Regions from separate parts of the Homo sapiens genome. Here region 1 is linked to region 2. The links are contacts of gene promoters, found by promoter capture Hi-C in human tissues and cell types (Jung and others, 2019). All regions are on one chromosome and are shown on one strand. The core of a region is centred on a gene start or on the middle of the fragment in contact, and the rest is flanking DNA. Distances in the headings are between cores, read along the strand shown.

The links. The method cuts DNA at HindIII sites, captures the fragments that hold promoters and counts their contacts. A contact is called where the count stands out against the background at its distance.
Region 1: a contact is called between a fragment that was not itself captured here and the fragment with the promoter of RBPMS2 in region 2, in 2 of the 25 tissues and cell types used here (spleen and thymus).

The regions. Positions count from the first base shown.
Region 1 is chr15:64,229,045-64,231,923 of GRCh38, reverse strand. All of the region lies in intron 4 of CSNK1G1 (casein kinase 1 gamma 1), which reads left to right. Among named protein-coding and RNA genes, the nearest start is that of PPIB, 67 kb to the right of the region's middle. The HindIII fragment of the contact is 8,680 bases long and covers 1-2,879 here.
Region 2 is chr15:64,774,310-64,777,053 of GRCh38, reverse strand. RBPMS2 (RNA binding protein, mRNA processing factor 2) reads left to right here and starts at 1,465. Exons shown (of 8, transcript NM_194272.3): 1 at 1,465-1,821. The coding sequence starts at 1,735. RefSeq lists enhancers at 1-757, 758-1,604 and a silencer at 1,040-1,289. The HindIII fragment of the contact is 13,175 bases long and covers 1-2,744 here.

The sequences.
Region 1 (2,879 bases), core at 221-2,720, 550 kb after region 2:
AGAGTGTCATTGGAAGGAAAATGTAATATTTACTGAGCTTACAGTATGTTCATGTTAGGACAGTGAGGTTAATGGTAGGACAATAATGGTAAGTAACTGTAACACAAGCTAAAACAGTAGAATGTTATATATATTTTTAAAATGCATATAAAATGAGGAAGTTCTGAAAGAAAAAATGGTTTCTAATTTTGAGAAAGAGAAAAGGTTTTATAGAGAGAGTGGCATGTATGGGGCTGAGCTTTAAAAAACGACTATGATTTATTTGAACATATAAAAATGGAAGAGTAAGGAAAGCTTTCCAAGTACAAAAAATAAACCAAGTCCCAGAGGCTGCTATGTCTCTGTTCATGCATTTATTAAAGAGATATTCTTGAGCATCCCACTTGGGTTAAGTACTATTCTAAGCTAAGTCTTAGGGATACAGTAGTGAACAAGATAGGCACAGCACCTAATATATATATGTATATGTGTGTGTGTATATATATATATATCCTAATATATATATACATATACATATATGAGCAAGACCTCATCTCCAAATATATATATGTTTATATAAATATAAAATATAAATATATATATAATATATATATATTTGGAGATGAGGTTTTGCTCTGTCACCTAGGCTGAAGTGCAGTGGTGTCATCACAGCTCACTGCAGCCTCAACCTCCTGGGCTCAAGAGATTCTCCTACCCCAGCTTCCTGAGTAGCTGGGACCACAGGCATACATCACACGCTCAACTAATTTTTTTATTTTTTGTAAACATGGGGTCTCCCTATGTTGCCCAGGCTAGTCTCGAACTTTTGGCCTCAAGCAATCCTCCTGCCTCAGCCTCCCAAAGTGCTGAGATTACAGGTGTGAGCCACCATGCCCAGGCTTAATTAATGTTCTAAAAGGAATATAACCTGCAATTTTATTTTATTTTATTATTTATTTATTTATTTTTTTGAGACGGATTCTCGCTCTGTCACCCAGGCTGGAGTGCAGTGGCACAATCTCGGCTCACTGCAACCTCTGCCTCCTGGGTTCATGCCATTCTCCTGCCTCAGCCTCCTGAGTAGTTGGGACTACAGTCACCCACCACCACGCCTGGCTAATTTTTTTGTATTTTTTAGTAGAGACGGGGTTTCACCGTGTTAGCCAGGATGGTCTCAATCTTCTGACCTAGTGATCCACCCACCTTGGCCTCCCAAAGTGGTGGGATTACAGGCGTGAGCCACTGCACCCGGCTGCCATTTTATTTTTAAATACCCTCACAGACCTGAGTACTCAAGTAATGGGGACTGTCGTGCTAAATGTTGAAAATAGGCCCAAGCCTAGAGTCAGAATAGGGACCAAAGAAGATTTAGAACTCTGGCAGTTTGGGAAGGATGAGGTGGGAGAACTGCTCGAGCCCAGGACTTCAGGACCAACCTGGGCAACCTAGTGGGACCCTGTCTCAACAAAAAATTAAAAATTAGCCAGGCGTGGTGTCACACGTCTGTAAGTCCCAGCCACTCGGGAGGCTGAGGTGGGAATATTGCTTGAGCCTGGGAAGTCAAGGCTGCAGTGAGCCATGGTTTGTGCCACTGCACTATAGCCTGGGTGATAGAGTGAGACCCTGACTTAAAAAAAAAAAACCAAAACTGGCAATTTGGCACTATATACTAAAATATTAACTATGCAAGCATTTGACTCAGCATTTCCTGTTTAAGGAATTAACATTCAAGATATGTTTACCGGGCAGGGCATGGTGGCTCACGCCTATAATCCAAGCACTTTGGGAGGCCCAGCGCGTCAGGTGATCTGCCTGGCCAACATGGTAAAACCCTGTCTCTACTAAAAATATAAAAATTAGCCGGGCACGGTGGCGCATGCTTGTAATCCCAGCTACTCCAGAGGCTGAGACAGGAGAATCCCTTGAACCCGGGAGGTGGAAGTTACAGTGAGCCGAGGTCGCGCCACTGCCCTCCAGCCTGGGCGACAGAGTGAGATTCTGTCTTAAAAAAAAAAAAAAAAAAAAAAAAAAAAAAAAAAAAATTTACAAACATGCCCAAAAATATAGGCTTAAGGATTTTTTTTTGTAGTATTGCATGCCTATTTGTCTAGATGCTTTTATTTGCCAAGAGTAGAATCCCAGTTCAAGCTCACTTGAGAGAGGGAGAGGAGAATTTCTTGGCTCACAGAACTGAGAAGTCAAAAGCATTCTCACTTCAAGCCATCCAGATACAGGACTAATAATGTCCTTGGTCCATAGGTATGTGATACATTTGCCTCTCTTTTTTTCTCACCTCTTCTTTCTCTGCATTAGCTTCATTCTCAAATAGGCTTTCTCCATGTGGTGGTCCCTGGCAACTCCAGGCTGAGCTGCTTTCAGTTTAGCGATCAGGGAGAGAGAGAGAGAGAGAGAGAGAAAGAGAGAGAGAAAGAGAGAGAATACTCCTCCTTCTCTATAGTTCCACAAAAGTCCTAGAGTTGACTCTTGTTACATGAGAGACATGGCACCCATTCCTGAGCCAGTTTTCCCAGGCAGGCAGATAGAGTATTCTGAGTAATTGGGCTTGTGGCATCCTCGGGATGTCAGTGGGAGATGGGTTGCCCCCACTTTAACCACATGAAGTAACACTGGGGAAATGGTACTTTCCACTGTAAGAATAAGGTGGTGTTATCAGAAGGAACAAAAGGATGCAGACCAGGCAAAAGCAATAGGTGTTCACTATAATATATATTTCTAATTAACACATGGAAACAGCATGAATGCCCATCAGTAGGGGGAAAGTTAAACAGATATGTTACATGGTGGAATACTATTATACTACTATTAATATGTAGCTATTAAAATGAATAAGGTAGGTCTATATGTTGATAAGAAAAAATATCCACTCTGTAGTATTTTTC
Region 2 (2,744 bases), core at 216-2,715:
GTGAGATGGCAGGTCAGGATGGAGATTATAATTTACTGGGAAGACTAAGCCACAGCACAGTGATCCTGTGGTGCTAGTCCTACCTAATTCAGGAGGTCGACACACAGAGGTTCTGGGGGCTCAGGCACTTGTCCACGGTCTGGGATCCTAACCAGTCCGTGACTGCAAATCCAGCTTTTCTTTTTTCTTTTCTTTTTTTGAGACGGAGTTTCGCTCTTGTTGCCCTGGCTGGAGTGCAATGGCAAGATCTCGGGTCACCGCAACCTCCGCCCCGTCCAGGAGAAGGGGCACTGAGGAGGGACCCAGTTCTCCCGCGGCTCTGCCGGATTCAGGCTGCAGCGCTTCCAGCGCTCCCCGAGGTGGGTGCGGGTTTCTACTGTGGCAGCAGGGCGGGCCCCCATCGGCTGGGTTTTCAAATAGAAGAGAAAACCGACCCAGAGGCCGCGCCCTACTGACCTGCGCGGGGGTGCGGGGGGAGTCACGACGACCTCCCCCACCTCCCCCAGCCTCTAGGCTATTACATCCGTCCCCAGCCTTCGGGCTCAGAATAGGAGGCAGGGAAAGGTGTGAGGGGCACTGAGGTCGGGGGAGGAGCGAGAAGACCCGAAAGCCAGGCGTGTTGAGGGCAAGGTGGGCAACAGAACCTTCTTGGTCATTCGAGGCAGCCCTCGCTAATGACCATTGGGGTCCCAACACTCGAATCCCCACCTAAGTCCTATTCAGATAGTGACTGGGAGTGGGAAGGGAGTTTGAGATCCTAAGTCCCACCCTCTGGGCTGGGAGCCTGAGGCCAGAGAGGGGAAGTGATTTCCTCAAGGTCACTCAGCAAAACAGCGCCCAGCCCGGGCCAAAGCTCAGGTGTCTCCCAACCCCCTCCCCCCGGCCATCACCCCCAGAACTCGGTCCCCCGGAGCTGAGGTCTGCGCGACTGGATTTAGGGGCAGAATGAGTGCGTCGGGAACCCCAAAACCCTAGATCAAGATACAAGGGGAGTCGACGGCCCGGAAACCTCGCTGCGGGTGCCCTAAGCGCGAGGCCGCCCGGGCAGGGCCGCCCAGGGACCGGGGCGCTGGGTGCGGGGCACGGGGCTCCACCTCCCGCGGGCTGGGGCGCGCAGCGCGCGGCCCCTTTAAGAAAGTTCGCCGGGCGAGTTCATCAAAGTTTAAAAACTCGCCGTGGAGAAGGGCGCGGGGGAAGAGGAGAGAGGGAGAGCGCTGACCCAGGCGAGAGAGAGGGGAAAGGCCCGGCCGGAGGCCGGCGCCCCGCGGCCGGGGCCGGGGCGAGCCCACGGTGGGCGGTGGGGATTGGCTGCGCGTTCCCCCGGAGACCGCGCGGCGGGCGGGGGAGGGGGCTGGCCGGGCCCCAGCTGAGGCCGGTTCCGGCCCCGCCCCCCGCCGCCGGCGCCCGCCCCCTCCCCCGGCGCCCGCCCCCCGCCGCCGCTGCCGCCGCCGCCGCCGCCGCGGCGCACTCGCCGGTCGCAGTGAAAAGGCGGAGGCGGCGGCCCCTCCGGCTCCCACTGCCTCCCCCGCCGCACCCCCTCCCCACCTTCCGCACCCGCCAAACTTGATGTGACCCTGGCCCGACGCGGAGGCTGCCCCTCTCACTGCCCCGTGGGTCCCCCGCCACCCGCTCCGCACCCGCGAGCGCACCGCTCCCCGCGCCCCTTCCCACTTCCCGCGGGGCCGGCGCCGCGCTCGCCCTCGCGTTCCTTCCCGCCGCCCCCTCCCCCGCACCATGAGCAACCTGAAGCCGGACGGCGAGCACGGCGGCAGCACCGGCACCGGCTCCGGCGCGGGCTCCGGCGGCGCCCTGGAGGAGGAGGTGGGTCTGTGGCCCCGGGACTTGCCGGGTGAAGCGCACGCCAGGCGGGCGCGGGAGAGGGCGAGCGGGGCCTGCCGCGCCTCGCGGGGCCGGGGTGGCCATCGCTCCCGGCGCCTTCCCGCCGCTGCCCTCTCGCCCGGGTAGGAGCGGCCCGTGTCCGCGGGCGGGAGCGTGCGGCCTGGACTGCCCCGCCGGACAGGCATTGTCTCCCCGCCCTCTCGGGCTCGAGGCGGGCCGCGCGCGCCGGCCGCCGTCCGGGCGTCCCGCGGTGGGCGAGATGCGCCGCGTCCGTTCCATGCCTGCCGCCCGCGCGCCCCTTGCTCCCCACCCCGTAGCCGCTCGCCGCCCTCCTCCGAGGCGCACCTCCTGCGTGGCCAGGACCCCGCCTCGGCGGCACGGAGCGGAGCGGGATTAGCACGGCCCGAGGGCGGCACCCTCACTCCACTGCCTTTTCCGCCCTGACCCCCTCCCCGTGACCTTGGAGGCCTGGGCCGGCCGGCTCCTCGGTTCCTGCGAGCTGTTGTCATGGGGGTGGGCGGGCTTTCTTCACAGCCCCAGAACCTGGGCTTTGGCAGAGGTGAGCCCACAATTTAATTAGTTTGGAAGATGACTAAAGACACTCAGTTCGTCCTTCTCCTCTCTCTGGGTTTGTCCTGGCAACCAAGCCAGGACCCCAAAGCTGGCCTGGGTGGGATCCTGCCAGGAGGGGCGAAATCATCTCGTCCACCGGCCATGTGCGAAAGGGAGGGAGTGTAAGGCGGCTCCGTGGAACCACCAGCAGCTGGGTGGTTAATGGATGGTAGGGAGGATGTGTGTGCGGGGTGGGGTGCTGGATAAAAGCCTCAAAGATATCAGTGAATAGGGACGAGGAGCTAGGCTGGCGGAGACAAGAACTGGAGTAGAAGGGGACAGGCTTCGCAGGG